2 separate regions of the Homo sapiens genome follow, and region 1 is linked to region 2. Evidence: promoter capture Hi-C in 16 types of primary human blood cells and fetal thymus (Javierre and others, 2016). All regions are on one chromosome and are shown on one strand. Each heading gives the region's core, a stretch centred on a gene start or on the middle of the fragment in contact. The rest is flanking DNA. Distances are from core to core; before and after follow the strand shown. Region 1 holds the start of NADK2 (NAD kinase 2, mitochondrial). Region 2 holds the start of MTMR12 (myotubularin related protein 12).

What was found. The method cuts DNA at HindIII sites, captures the fragments that hold promoters and counts their contacts. A CHiCAGO score of 5 or more calls a contact.
Region 1: the fragment with the promoter of NADK2 here is called in contact with the fragment with the promoter of MTMR12 in region 2 in 1 of 17 cell types (fetal thymus); the score reaches 6.2 in fetal thymus.

What each region holds. Positions count from the first base shown.
Region 1 is chr5:36,240,328-36,247,399 of GRCh38, reverse strand. It overlaps NADK2 (NAD kinase 2, mitochondrial), which reads left to right and starts at 5,475. Exons shown (of 12, transcript NM_001085411.3): 1 at 5,475-5,901. The coding sequence starts at 5,602. LOC124900962 (a long non-coding RNA gene) reads right to left here and starts at 5,498. Exons shown (of 3, transcript XR_007058733.1): 1 at 5,372-5,498. It overlaps RANBP3L (RAN binding protein 3 like), which reads left to right. Exons shown (of 14, transcript NM_145000.5): 14 at 1-487. RefSeq lists enhancers at 4,951-5,150, 6,501-6,570 and a silencer at 5,391-6,410. The HindIII fragment of the contact is 2,649 bases long and covers 4,773-7,072 here.
Region 2 is chr5:32,308,148-32,315,463 of GRCh38, reverse strand. MTMR12 (myotubularin related protein 12) reads left to right here and starts at 2,525. Exons shown (of 16, transcript NM_001040446.3): 1 at 2,525-2,706. The coding sequence starts at 2,626. It also overlaps the pseudogene RNU6-378P. RefSeq lists an enhancer at 2,057-2,106 and silencers at 2,197-2,986, 3,057-3,196, 5,322-5,482. The HindIII fragment of the contact is 10,159 bases long and covers 1-6,078 here.

The DNA.
Region 1 (7,072 bases), core at 4,226-6,725, 3.9 Mb before region 2:
GGTTAGAATATCAGCAAGGCAAAGAGAGAAGAGAAAATTCCCAGATTATGAAATGGAGAAGAAGAACAGAAACATGATATTTAGCTCACAACTCTTTCAACCCATTTTCTATACACTCCATTATTCTTTCTTAGAATTCTTACACAAATATTTAGTACAATTTTGGAGGAATAGTAGAAACATTTTATAGTTTTTCCTTGTCCTGTATCTTCATCTAGCCTTCTTTTCAGCTTTCCTATGTCCTTTGTTCTCCTTTTATAAGGAGAGATGAGTTGTACAATAACATCCATTTTCATAAGTTATTTAGGTAAATTATTTTGAAGTATACATGTTGGATTTCCAAAGCAGCTGTTTTTAATTAAAATTTAATTAACTAATTTATGTCATTATATATCTTGTGTTAAGACAACCTTAACTTTCTTTTAGTAAGATTTTACCCAACTGTTTACCCTAATTATAGACAATTAAAATGTTCTCTCTTAAAAAATATTATTTTCCATCCATTACTGCCAAAACAAGGAACGCTTTTTCGCCAGGAGAATACATCCTATACAGCAGTGGTAACCAACCTTTTTGGCACCAGGGACTGGTTTTGTGGAAGACAATTTTTCCACAGGCTAGGGGGTGGGTAGGGTGGGGGTGGTTTTGGGATGAAGCTGTTCCACCTCAGATCATCAGGCATTAGAGTCTCATACGGAGCGTGCAACCTAGGTGCCTTGCATGAGCAGTTTACAGTAGTGTTTGCATCCTATGAGAATCTAATGCTGCCTCTGATCTGACAGCAGGCAGAGCTCAGGCAGTAACGCAAATTATGGGAAGCAACTGTAAATACAGATGAAGCTTCACCCCCTTGCCTGCCGCTCCTCTCCTGCTGTGTGGCCCGGTTCCTAATAGGCCAGGGACCGATACTGGTCCACAGCTCGGGGGTGGTGGACCCCTGCTATACAGGTCTTAGAGTATTTGAATGTCATAAAAAGAGGTATATATGTCTTTCATAGAGTCAGAATGAACATGAAGTGGGGGTGGGAAGGGTTCTGGGGGTTGGGAAGGATATATTTTAAAACCTCTGTAAATCTTCAAGTTGTGAATACCACAGTGATATATAATTTTCCCCATAAAATGTTGAGAACAGTTAAGCTTGCTTGAGATATGGCTATCACATGGTTGGCTAGACTCATTTACTAGAAAAGCACACCAGCCTCACCATAGATGGAGTCTGAGTTTAAAACTCAAAAATCCATGAATGCCAGCAGTTTTGTTTGGGAGGGTGAGGTCGGCGGATTGCCTGAGCCCAGGAGTTCAGGACCAGCCCGGGGAACATTGCACAACACCCCATTTCTACAAAAATTTCTAAAAATTAGCAGGGTGGCTGGGCGTGGTGGCTCACGCCTGTAATCCCAGCACTTTGGGAGGCCGAGGCAGGCGGATCATGAGGTCAGGAGTTCTCAGGACCAGCCTGGCCAGGATGGTGAAACCCCGTCTCTACTAAATATACAAAAATTAGCCAGGCGTTGTGGCATGCACCTGTAATCCCAGCTACTCGAGAGGCTGAGGCGAGAATTGCTTAAACCGGGAGGCGGAGGTTGCAGTAAGTCGAGATGGTGCCACTGCACTCCAGCCAGGGTGACAGAGCGAGACTCCATCTCAAAAAAAAAAAAAAATTAGCAGGGCATGGTGACACGCATCTGTAATCCCAGCTACCTGGGAGGCTGAGGTAGGAGGATTGCCTGAGCCTGGGAGGTTGCAGCTGTGTGAGCCATGCGGTGCAGTGCCACTGCACTCCAGCCTAGGGGATAGAGTAAGACCCTGTCTCAGGAAAAAAAAAAAAAAAAGATATTTGTAAACTATGGCACTGGAAGGAAGAATTATTGAAATGATTAGCTAATGTTTAGCCTAATCAAGACTTGATATGGATAAGTTTTCTAACAGAGTGTTACCAAGATTTCTTAATTTCTACCAATCTAGTGGATATAAAATATTATTTCACAATGACATTATTTGTATTTCTCTAATTTCCAATAAGGTTATCTTTTCAAGTATTTATTCACTGTTTGTGTTTCTTCTAAAAAATTCCTGCTCACGCCTGGGCACAGTGGCTCACACCTGTAATCCCAGCACTTTGAGAGGCCGAGGTGGGTGGATCATGAGGTCAGGAGATCGAGACCATTCTGGCTAAGATGGTGAAACCCTGTCTCTACTAAAAATACAAAAAATTAGCCAGGCCTGGTGGCACGCACCTGTAGTCCCAGCTACTCTGGAGGCTGAGGCAGGAGAATCCCTTGAACTCGGGAGGCGGAGGTTGCAGTGAGCTGAGATTGCACCACTGCACTCCAGTATGGACGACAGAGCGAAACTCCATCTCAAAAAAAAAAAAATTCACAATTTTTGCAAAGCTAATCATGTCATTTTCTCCTTTTGGTTGCCTCCTAATATATGCAGGATAAAAGGCAGGTTCCTAAGCATGGATTTAACATTTTCCATTGTCTTTACCCTTGTCTACCTCTCTAGCCTCACTTCCCCATGTTGCCTGCCTCTCTCTAAATTCTCTAAAATTTCAAAATTGCTAGTTCATTGCTTCTATGCATTTGTTCATGGTGTTTCTTCTGTGGAATTTCCTTCTCATTCTTGCTGATAATGGCTAATATTGAATTCATTACTTAAGGCTTAGCTCTTCACATTCCCAAAAAGCCTTCTCTAACTCTTGTTAGGTTGACTTGAGACTTGCTCCTCCAAATTTCTCAGCATTCTGTGTATAACTCTATCACTGCATAGACTTTAGGCTCCTCAAGGGCATGGAAGCTTTTTATCATTTCATCTGTAGCACCTAGCAGGATGCCTGGCCTACAGTGACACTCAAATTTAATTTAATCTCCACGAATGTGTGTTACATGTGTAAGATTTAAGAGACATTATCTAAAAGGAAACTAGATAAGGATTGGAAATTCAAGAGAAAGATCTGGGCTAAAGATGCCAGTAATAGCTGAGGTCATGAAAGGGGCTAATATTTGCCAAGTGTCTACTGTGTAATGGGCACAGTGCTAAGCATCTGTGCATATATTCACAATTTTACAAGGTAGCAATTATATTTTATAAATGCAGAAGTAGTCTCAGGAAGGTTAAACAACCAGTTCAAGTTTCACAAAGCTAATAAACAATAAAACTGAGATTTGAACCAAGATCCTTCCATTACACAACACTGAATGAACTCAGGAGCGTGTGTGTGTGACAGAGAGAGAGAGAGAGAAGGAAAAAAGACGGAGAAGAAGAGACAAGGAGACGAGGACAGAAGACATCTTGGAGATGGGTTTAGGAAGAAGTCAAAAAGGGACATAGAGATGGGAGAAACACTGTTAGGGACTGGTATGTTGGGAGACAGTAAAAGATTTCAAGAAGAAATGATAACCATTTCAAATTCTTTGGAAAGATCAATCAATTAAAGAACTGAAAAAAGTCTTTTGAGTTCCAACAAGATCTTTTGGTCACCTTGGAAACAGCAGTAATTAGCAAAGTAGTGGGGAGAAGCTAGTGTACAACAGGTTGAGGAATGACTAGGAGGCAGGGATGTGGCAATGATGAACAGACTACTCTTTCGAGAATCAGCTGTAAAGGTAAGGCAGGCAATATGTAAAAACAAAGGCTTAGAGGTTGTTTTGTTTTTTTAGAAAAATTTTAAAGATGTCATAGACATGAGCATATTTAAATACTGAAGAGGCAAACTCATTTGGGAGGGAAAATTCAAGATACCTGTGAGAGGATGCCTTCAGAAACACTATTTTTGAGGAGGTGGAAGATGAGACGCAAAATAACTATGGACAAAGGGCTATTCCAACTGAGATGTCAATGTATATGTTTGCAGCTGAAATGAGAGTCAAAAATCTGGGTTTTTATCTGTGAAATGGGAAGAAATGAGGTCCGAGATTTCAAATATGAGCAACAAAACTCAGACTTTGATCCCAAACAGTTTCTCCCTACGCATTTTTTTTTCTCTATCGAATGGATCAATTAACATTCCCCTGTTCACCCTGGCCTCAAACCTAAGCGTCATCTGTGATTTCTCCCTTTTTTTTTTCCTTCCTAATGCTAATGAAGTTTAAAATAGTAAGACTACAAAGGAGTCTGAGGATAGTTATAGATGTTACCTCTAGAAGCTCAGGTTATTAAGGTTGTTACACTACACGTCACTATTAGCAGCTGCTGTGAGGGAAAGTTCTTGGTGAGAACGGGTCAGTGGTAGAACTTTACCAAGTAAACACCTATCGGGCTTCATTGTGTATGCTCCCAGTCCAATACACTACCTGGCACACAGCAGGCACACCGCGGGAACCCACGAATGAACGCTGGTGCTGGTGGGCCCGTGAGGAGAGTCATAGATTCACTGAATCGATTTGGACTTGGTAGAACCTTGGGGTCACCCTAACCCCCTTTTTACAGATGAGGAATCTGAGGCCCAGAAAGATGAGGTAACCTGCCCAAAGTCCAGAAGCGACGTAGCGCCAGGACTACAAAGGAGCAAACACAGTGCCAGGGGAAGGGGATCTAAGGAGCTGCGGAATTGAACAGCAGGATGTGCACTGCCATGTGGTTCTCCCCTTACAATGGGACGTTTCCTTCTGTTCTCGTCACACCCCAGCCCAGGTCCTGATCACTCCACGGGTCATTATCCCAACAGCATCCCTTCCTCCTCTTCTTGCCTCCCAAGCTACCCAAGATTCCAAAGCCAGATCAATAGTCATCAAACATTGCTTTAACTCACTCCTTTCCAGTTAAAAGCTTTCAAAGAACTAATTCATTTGGACTTTGTCCTATAGGTAGGGCTCTTCGGGGGGGCAGGGGGCAGCGGGGCGGGCACTGGGTCCCACGCCGAGAGGATTTCGTGCCAAGCCACGCACACGGTGCAGCAGGAGCCGGGTCCGCCTCCTCAGCCCCCAGCCCGGCCCCAGACACACCAGCTATCACACCGACCCTGGTCAAATAAACCAATGGGCACGTGGTCGGCCTGCAGAACAGAACCCAAGCGAGCATATGCCAGGAACCTGCCTTCCCGCCAGCCGCTCAAAACCCCACCCGCTGGCCCCGCGCCGCCTCAGACCGGATCCAGCTGGATTCCTCAGGGCGACGCAATCGCCTAACAGAATTCTACCTCTTTCTCAGGCCGCAGCCAATGGCGCGGCCCCTCGGATCCGGAGCCGCCGCGGGCTCTGATTGGCCGATAGAGTTAGCCTGGGGGCGGGAGAAGAGCGACCTCGGGGAAGCGTGTGGTGCGGGGAGGTCGCCCCCGGGCGGCGAAGCAGCCATTATGCAGGCGTGAGTGAAACGAATAAACAAACAAACAAAACCCACTAGCTGGGGCCTCCATTTCTTCCCCGCCCACCTTTCTCCCGCGTGGGGTCTCCCGTTTCCCAATCGCCACGCTTTCCCCGCCTTCGTCAACGCCTGGGTACGTCCCCCTAGCCGCGTGGGCCACGCACGTCCTGGCACTTAACCTCTGCCCGTCCGGCGCGAAGTTAGAGGCCCGGGCGGCGCGGACGGCGCGCACTCCCGGCGGTAGGGAGCTGAGGCAAGGGGCCCGAGCCCAAGCCCGCGGCCGCGGCCCGGCCCACGATGACTTGCTACCGAGGCTTCTTGCTGGGCAGCTGTTGTCGCGTGGCGGGCGGCCGGGCGGCGGCGCTGCGGGGACCGGGTGCGGGAGGCCCCGCCGCGCGGCCCCGGCTGGGCGGTGACGGTGGCGGCCGGCGGCACCTGGGGCAGGGGCAGCCGCGCGAGCTGGCGGGCTGTGGCAGCCGCGCGGACGGCGGCTTCCGCCCCTCCCGGGTGGTGGTGGTGGCCAAAACCACCCGGTACGAGTTCGAGCAGCAGCGGTACCGTTACGCGGAGCTCTCGGAGGAGGACCTGAAGCAGCTGGTGGGTCCTGGCTCGGCCCCGCTTCGCTCCCGGGCTCGGCCGGGGCTCTGGTGGCGGCTGCGCCCCCTCGGGGGGACCTCTCGGGACGACTCTTCCCAGGGCACCGCAGATGCCGGTCCTGCCTCTCTCGCGGCCCCCAGGTCCTCTGGCTTCTCCCTGGGCCTCCTTTGCCTTTGGGCGTGTGTGCGAGGGAGAGGCAGGGCCGGGGAGAGGGGGAGAGAGAGGGACAGTGGTTCATGCAGGGACTTAGGAGGCAGGGGCGCCGCGGGGAGGGCGAAGAGGGGCTGCCGAGTGGCCTCAGAGTGAGGGGTTTGAGGATTCGTTGGTGCCCTCGCCGCCCCCGCCCTCGTTCCCTGGTTGGGACCCACTCCAAGAAAGTGAGCCAGTGGCCTGAGGTCTGGACGCCCTGCGAACAGCTCCCCTGGCCGCCGCGAGAAAGGGGGCCCAGGGCGCCGCTGAGGGCTGCCGGGGGAAAAGGGCCGAAACAACCGCGGACACACCCCCTTTTACTCTGCAGGACTGCGAGGCCTAGGGCACTCCGGAAAGTCCTTCAGCGTGAGCCTTTTCCTTGCTGGAACGTGGTCGTTGGACACTACGAGCTTGTTTTAAAAGCACAGGTCTTTGGTGCTAAGAAGGAAAAGGGAGAAAATTTGACTTGTATATGTACGTTATTAAGGAGAAATGTCAGGACAAGGGGCTGGTATACTGGGTAGTGTGTGAAATAAAAAAGCCTGCGACTCTTGTGCAGCAGTATCTCCACAATATACCATATTTGATATGTTTATTAATATATCTGCAAAGATACAAATCCAAGGGAAAAACCAGAGTTTGAATCTTCCTGTTGTCATCCCCCCCCACCAACTTTAAAAACAGTTTCTGATCCCATACCACCATCCACCAACTTTAGGAAAAGGAGAGTGCCCGGTGCTACCATGAGCAGTATGTCCAGAAAAATATATTGGAAATCTCTTAATTGTTGGCACTGTGCACCAAAAGGTTTTGGAATTAATTGCACATAACTGATTTAGTTTAATTCTGTGCAAGACTAGACAACCTGTTGGAAACTTCTGGTATCGTGTGATCTTAGCGAAGTTATTTTGTAGAGGCATCAAAATGAAATTGTAAATCATCTTTGCTTAAGTGCTGAATCTGTTGTCAACATTAAACATCC
Region 2 (7,316 bases), core at 1,276-3,775:
TGATTCGGTTCCTGTGTGTGTGTGGGTGTGTGTGTGTGTGTGTGTGTGTGTGTGTTGGGGCGGGGGCGGTCTTTAAACTGGTTGATGTCGGCTGTTCTGCTGGAACGTAGGATCTGCCTAAGCAATTCTTAAATAAAACCCTTATGATTCCAGAGCCAGAAATCCTACCTATTGAAACAACAGGGATGCAAATGGTCAGTACCTAGTGTTACCTGAAGTTATTAATACAAAGAAGCAGGCCGAACTGCAGCCTGATTAATGCTTAGTTATAACTCTATTTTTGTGCAGAATTCTTCTCAACCTTGTAAGGATGGCCTCAACTTGGACTCCCCAAATAGAATTGACCACACTTTCATTGTGCTCCTTTCTAATTTGTATAATTATAATGTTAAGAACTTGGGATTTCGAATGAGACAAACCCGGGTTGAAATCCCAGCTCTCTCAGTGACTAGTTGTGAGACCTGGGCAAATTACTTGCATCTCTGTTTTGTCACCTGGAAACTGGGATAAGGAAACTCAGAGGCGGCTGCAGCACAGCTATACCAAATATTGGCTTACAGGTGGCAATCTAGCTGGAAACGGAGCTGCAGGACTTGCGTTGAAACTATGTTTGCAAAAGCAAGCACATTTGTTTTCACTAAGATTTTATATTTACTTGGAGTGTATTTGGGAAGGGGGAGCACATGGAGATTAAGAGGGTAAAAATCAAGGTCACCAATGAGAGTACTTAGCACAGTGCCTGACGCCTAAAAAATTAACTGCAAATATTTATGTTTTTTTCCACTAGATTGAATTTCTTAAGAGCTGGATTCTATCTTATTTATCTGCAACTAACAACGCTTGGCACCAAATGTAGAACTGAAATGAATTTTCTTTGCAATCTTGACTAAAAAATGAGGGTTTTATCAATAACTTCGTAGAGTAAATAGAAGTCTCTTAAGGGCTCTTGATATTCTTCCTGTTGGAAACACAAAGAAGGGAAAGGTTTGGAAAAATGAAGTTGACAAAGTCTTTTATTATCAAACGCTCAAACTTATTCCTCACTGCCTTGTTAACACTTGATTTGACACTTTTTTTTTTCTGTTTGAGACACAGTCTTGCTCTGCCACCCAGGCTGGAGTGCAGTGGCGCGATCCTGGCTCACTGCAACCTTGGTTCAAGCGATTCTCGTGCCTCAGCCTCCCGAGTAGCTGGGATTACAGGCGCCCGCCACCACACCAGGCTAATTTTTGTATTTTTAGTAGAGATAGGGTTTCTCCATGTTGGCCAGGCTGGTCTCAAACTCCTGACTTCAGATGATCCACCCGCCTCGGCCTCCCAAAGTGCTGGGATTAGAGGCGTGAGTCATCGTTTGTCTCATTTTTGTTTACATTTAAAATAATAAACCTTGAGGTCGGGCGCGGTGGCTCACGCCTGTAATCCCAGCACTTCGGGAGGCCGAAGCGGGTGGATCATCTGAAGTCAGGAGTTTGAGACCAGCCTGGCCAACATGGTGAAACCCCCGTCTCCATTAAAAATACAAAAATTAGCGGCATGGCGCGGTGGCTCATGCCTCTAATCCCAACACTTTGGGAGGCTGAGGCGGGCGGATCACGAGGTTAGGGGTTTGAGACTAGCCTGGCCAACATGGTGAAACCCCGTCTCTACTAAAAATACAAAAATTAGCCGGGTGTGATGGCAGGCGCCTATAATCCCAGCTACTCGGGAGGCTGAGGCAGGAGAATCGCTTGAACCTGGGAGGCAGAGGTTGCAGTGAGCCTATACTACGCCATTGCACTCAAGCCTGGGCGACAGAACGACACACACACACACACACACACACACACACAAAATTAGCTGGATATAGTGGCGGGCGCCTGTAATCCCAGCTACTCAGGAGGCTGAGGCAAGAGAATCGCTTGAACCTGGGAGACGGAGGTTGCAATGAGCAGAGATCGCGCCATTGCACTCCAGCCTGGGCGACAAGAGCAAAACTCCGTCTCAAAAGTAAATAATAATAAAATAAAAAACCTTGAACGTCATCGCTGTAAGTTGGGAACTCCTATAGCAAGATTCCATACATCCCATTTTTGGACGTTTTATTCCAAAGACACAAGCAAACGGAAGAAAACGACTGCCGTGAACCCCTGCTAACGACAACTTGGTGACTGCAGGATCATTGGACGACGGTTTTATCCTCGCCATCCAATCGTTGGAAAGTCCGGAGAGAACGCTCTCTGGATTGGTTGGAGGAAACATCTCTCCAAGTGCACTCAAGAATGGGTTGGGAGCGGGGTTCGGCCGGCAGCGCCTCGGGCCAATCAGAGAAAGCATGAGGGCGGGCTCTGCCGCAGGAAGGTGGTGAATCTCGGCGGGTCAAACTCTCCTGACGTGATGGGGGGGCGTGGCCTCCAGTTGCGGTCTCCCGGCTCTCTGGGCCCGCGCACGGGATGGGCGGGGCCCACGGGCCTGGGCGGGGCGAGCGGTGTCAGCGGCGGAGCCGGATGCGGGCGGCATCGCGGCGGTCGCGGCCTTGGGGATGGGCGGAGCCCCAGCCGCTAGTGCTGGTGGCCGCCGCTGCTGCCCCAGCTGGAGCCCGAGCCGCCGCCTCTGCGTCCGCGCGTCGCTGCTTCCCAGGGCGGCGGTATGCTGGGGAAAGGAGTAGTCGGCGGTGGCGGCGGCACCAAGGCCCCCAAGCCCTCCTTCGTGTCGTACGTACGCCCTGAGGTGAGGGGGCGCCGCGCAGGCGGGGCGTCGGGCAGGGGCGGCCGGGGCGAGGGGCGCCGGGAGCCCCTTCCTTGCAGCGGGGAGCGCCGCGGAGCGCTTCCTGCCCTTGTGCCGGGCGACGGGGCAGCCAGGCGGGCTGAGGCCGCAGGAGCGCGCTGGGGCCTCCGCGCGGGCCGGAATGGGGACCCCGGCGCAGGCAGGCAGGTGCCTGAGCGCAGGGCCCGAGCGCTGGAGGCTGGTGGAGGGGCCCGAGCCGAGAAGGGATTGCGGCCCGGAACGCCCCTGGGGATTCTGGAGAGGACCTGGGGTTGTGGGCACTGCTGGGAGGGGTAGGGCCGTGGGTCGGAGCCCCCAACGGGGCCTGCTCGGAGCCCGCGTGGGTCCGTCCTGCCTCTGGACTTTCTCAGTGAGCCCAGAAGCCCGCCGGCCTCCGCTGCCTGCGTCTGAGTGCCTCGGGTGCGGCTGGCGGGATGCCCTGCACCTACGTCCGCCTCCCGTCAGCGCTGCGGGGAGAAAAGGGGGTCGGCCTGGCCTCAGCCAGTCTCTGCTTGTCTCTCCCTTGGGAATTCTCCGCTGTCGCTTCTTTCTCCTCATCCCCTCACCATCATCCTTTCCACCCACTTCTTACTCTTCTGAATCTTCAGGTCAAGAAATTTGTTCATTCATTCAGAAAATACTTCTCGAGCTCCTACTGTGTGTCAGGCACTAAGTGCTTGTGATAGACATCAGTGAACAGGACAGAGATCTCTGCATTCCTGGAGCTTATTTGAGGGGGAAAGGAGAAACGGGGTGAATTATAGATAATTAAGTAAATTATACGGTGTAGTAGGAGGTGATAAATATCATGGGAAAGAAAAGAAATCTTTTTCCTCCTCGCAAAGGTGGCATTTGAGCCGAGACTTGAAGATACGAGAGGTCTGAGAGAAGAGTCGTCCAGGTAGAGGGAACAGCCCCCGGGAAGGTCGTGAGGTGGGAGTGTGTCTGAAGGGTTGGCGGAGCGTCAAGGAAGCCAGCATGGCAGAGGCCCATGGACAAGGGGGACAGTCATAGGAGAGGAGGTTAGAGAGATCAGAACTTGTAGGCCTTGCTCAGGGCTTCTTGAGCAATAGTTCTTAATCCAAATGCCTAATGAGAAGCCTTCTTGTTTTGCATCTGTAAAGGTTTTTTTCTGCCCTTCTCTCCAGCAGAAGTGCAGAAGCACCGCCAAATTTGTTGCAGATGTCTTCCCACCTCTGTAATGCAGAAGCACGTGGGCTGTGGATGAGAGATCTGATCAGGGACTGCTTCCGTAAAGACCACCTGGGGCCTGAGGCATTTGCATATGTATCTTTAAATTCAAGATATGTGTGTTTTCTCCAGGGGAAAGTGCTCTTAAAATGGGTCTTATTTTTAGTCCTAGTTGTAAAATACAAACCATTTCCTCTGTTAGCACTTGATGTGGAGTCAGGGTCATCTTAAAGTTTCAGCGGGCTTCCCTTGTGGTATCACATTTAAGCAATGTGGTCAATTTCTCTTTGTGTCTTTTTAAAACATTTAAACATTTAAAAAATTTTTGTGGGTATAGTAGGTGTATATATTTAATGGGATACATGAAATATTTGGGCTGGGCATGGTGGCTGACACCTGTAATCCCAGCACTTTGGGCCGGCTGAGGTGGGTGGATCACCTGAGGTCAGAAGTTGGAGACCAGCCTGGCCAACATGGTGAAACCCTAAAATTAGCCAGGCATGGTGGTGCGCACCTGTAATCCCAGCTACTTGGGAGGCTGAGGCAGGAGAATCGCTTGAACCCAGGAGGCAGAGGTTGCAGTGAGCCGAGATCGCGCCACTGCACTACAGCTTGGGCGACAGAGCGAGACTCCATCTCAAAAAAAAAAAAAAGAAAGAAATCTTTGGATACAGGCATACAATGCATGAATGGGGTATCCATCACTGCAAGCATTTATCCTTCCTTTGTGTTACACACTATCCAATTATACTCTTTAAGTTATTATAAAATATACAATTATTGTTGACTGTAGTCACCCTGTTGTGCTATCACTTACTAGATCTTATTCTAACTGTGTTTTTGTACCCATTAAACATCCCCACTTCCCTTTCCCCTGCTACCCTTCCCAGCTTTTGGTAACCATCATTCTGTCTCCATGAGTTCAAATGTTTTAATTTTTAGCTCCCACAAATAAGTGAGGACGTGCAAAGTTTGTCTTTCTGCGCCTGGCGTAGTTCACTTAACATAATGACCTCCAGTTCTGTTCATTGTTACAAATGACAGGATCTTATTCTTTTTTATGGCTGAATAGTACTCGTGTGTATGTACCACATTTTCTTTATCTATTCATTTGTTGATGATGGACACTTTGGTTGCTTCCAAATCTTGGCTGTGGTGAATAGTGTTGTAATAAACATGGGAGTGCAGATTTCTCTTCCATGTACTGATTTCCTTTCTTCCTTTTTTAGAGACAGGATCTTGCTTTGTCGCTTAGGTTGAAGTACAGTGGCGTGATCACAGCTCACTGTAGCCTCCACCTCCTGTACTCAAGCCATTTTCCCAAGTAGCTGGGACTACAGGTGCATGCCAGAGCACCTGGCTAATTTTAAAATTTTTAGTAGAGGTGATGTCTTGCTGTCTTTGCCCAGGCTGCTCTCAAACTCCTGGGCTCAAGCAATCCTCCTGCCTCAGCCTCCCAAAGTGCTGGGATTGTAGGCGTAAGCCACCGTGCCTGGCCCTGATTTCCTTTCTTTTGGGTGTATACCTAGCAGTGGGCTTGCCGGATCATATGGTGGCTCTATTTTTAGTTTTTGAGGAACCTCCGTACTGTTCTCCACAGTGGTTGTATTGATTTACGTTCCCACCAACAGCGTATGAAGGTTCCCTTCTCTCCACATCCTTACTAGCATTTGTTATTGCTTATCTTTTTTGGATATAAGCCATTTTAACTGGGATGAGATGATATCTCATACTTTTTTTTTTTAACATTTAAGGGTTTGTTAAAAATATGAAACGCTTCACGAATTTGCATGTCATCCTTGCGCAGGGGCCATGCTAATCTTCTCTGTGTCCTTCCAATTTTAGTATATGTGATGCTGAAGCGAGCACTCATTGTAGTTTTGATTTGTATTTCTCTGGTGATCAATGATGTTAAGCACGTTTTCATGTACCTTTTTTTGCCATTTGTATATCTTCTTTTGAGAAATGTCTTTCAGATCTTGTCTCCATTTTTAGGTGGATTATTAGATTTTTTCCTATTGAGTTGTTTGAGCTTCTTACATATTCTTGTTATCCCCTGTCAGATAGATGGTTTGTAAATATTTTCTCTCATTCAGTGGGTTATCTCTTCATTTTGTTGATAGTTTCCTTTGCTGTGAGGAAGCTTTTTAACTTGATGTGATCCCATTTGTCCATTTTTGCTTTGGTTGCCTATGCTTGTCGGGTATTCTTTATGTCTTTTTTTGATAGAACCCTGGTTGAAGTGCAACTGATCTTTAAACTTTTCTCTTCAGGGAAATTAAACTACAAGTGGAAAGTCTTCTGAAATGTGGCCAGAGTTCAAGAATGTTCAAATTCTTCGTCCACCAAGTGCACATGTTGTAATTAGACATGTTTCCCTCTTTGCCCACAGTGCCTGATGTATTTCCTTTGAGGGATAATTAGGGAAGGGGAGTGGTTCAGTCTAAAATAAGCCTGAAGTGGTCACATTTTTCAGATCCTTATAGTTGGCAGCTTTGTTTTCTTGCATTAAAATAATGCTGTGCAGACACTATGCCTCGTTGTTGTAGTCTGACTCTAAACATGTTTTGTAACAGAGGATAAGGCTCTGTCCTAAATTGTGGATGGTTTTTTAAAAGATAAGGGTAAGGCCGGGCGTGGTGGCTCACGCCTGTAATCCCAGCACTTTGGGAGGCCGAGGTGGGTGGATCATGAGGCCAAGAGATCCAGACTATCCTGGCCAACATGGTGAAACCCCGTCTCTACTAAAAATACAAAAATTACCTGGGCGTGGTGGTGTGTGCCTGTAGTTAGTCCCAGTTACTCGGGAGGCTCAGGCAGGAGAATCCCTTGAACCCAGGAGGCAGAGGTTGCAGTGAGCCAAGATCACGCCACTGCATTTCAGCCTGGCGACAGAGTGAGACTCCATCTCAAAAAAAAAAAGAAGATAAAGGTAGGAAGGGGTGAGAAGGCAATGTATTTTTAAGTATATAGGTTTTGCCAGGTAATCATATTACGGGAAATGCAGGTGAGCAACATCGAGGCATGGCTTATGTGCTTCTGAGAGCCCTGGGTCTGGTAACCTTCTCTTGGCTTACCCAGTGGGAGGAGTTCCTCAGGACACTCTTCTGAACTGTTCTCTCCTATTTCCTACACTGCTTTCCCTCATGTTGCCTTTCTCTGAACTGCCTTGGTGTATGTCATGCTGTTGCTTCTTTCTTTTTTTTTTTGAGATGGAGCCTCGTTCTGTCACCCAGGCTGGAGTGCAGTGGCATGAACTTGGCTCACTGCAACCTCCGCCTCCCAGGTTCAGGCGATTCTCCTGCCTCAGCCTCCTGAGTAGCTGGGACTACAGGCGTGCACCACCACACCCAGCTAATGTTTGTATTTTTAGTAGAGATGGG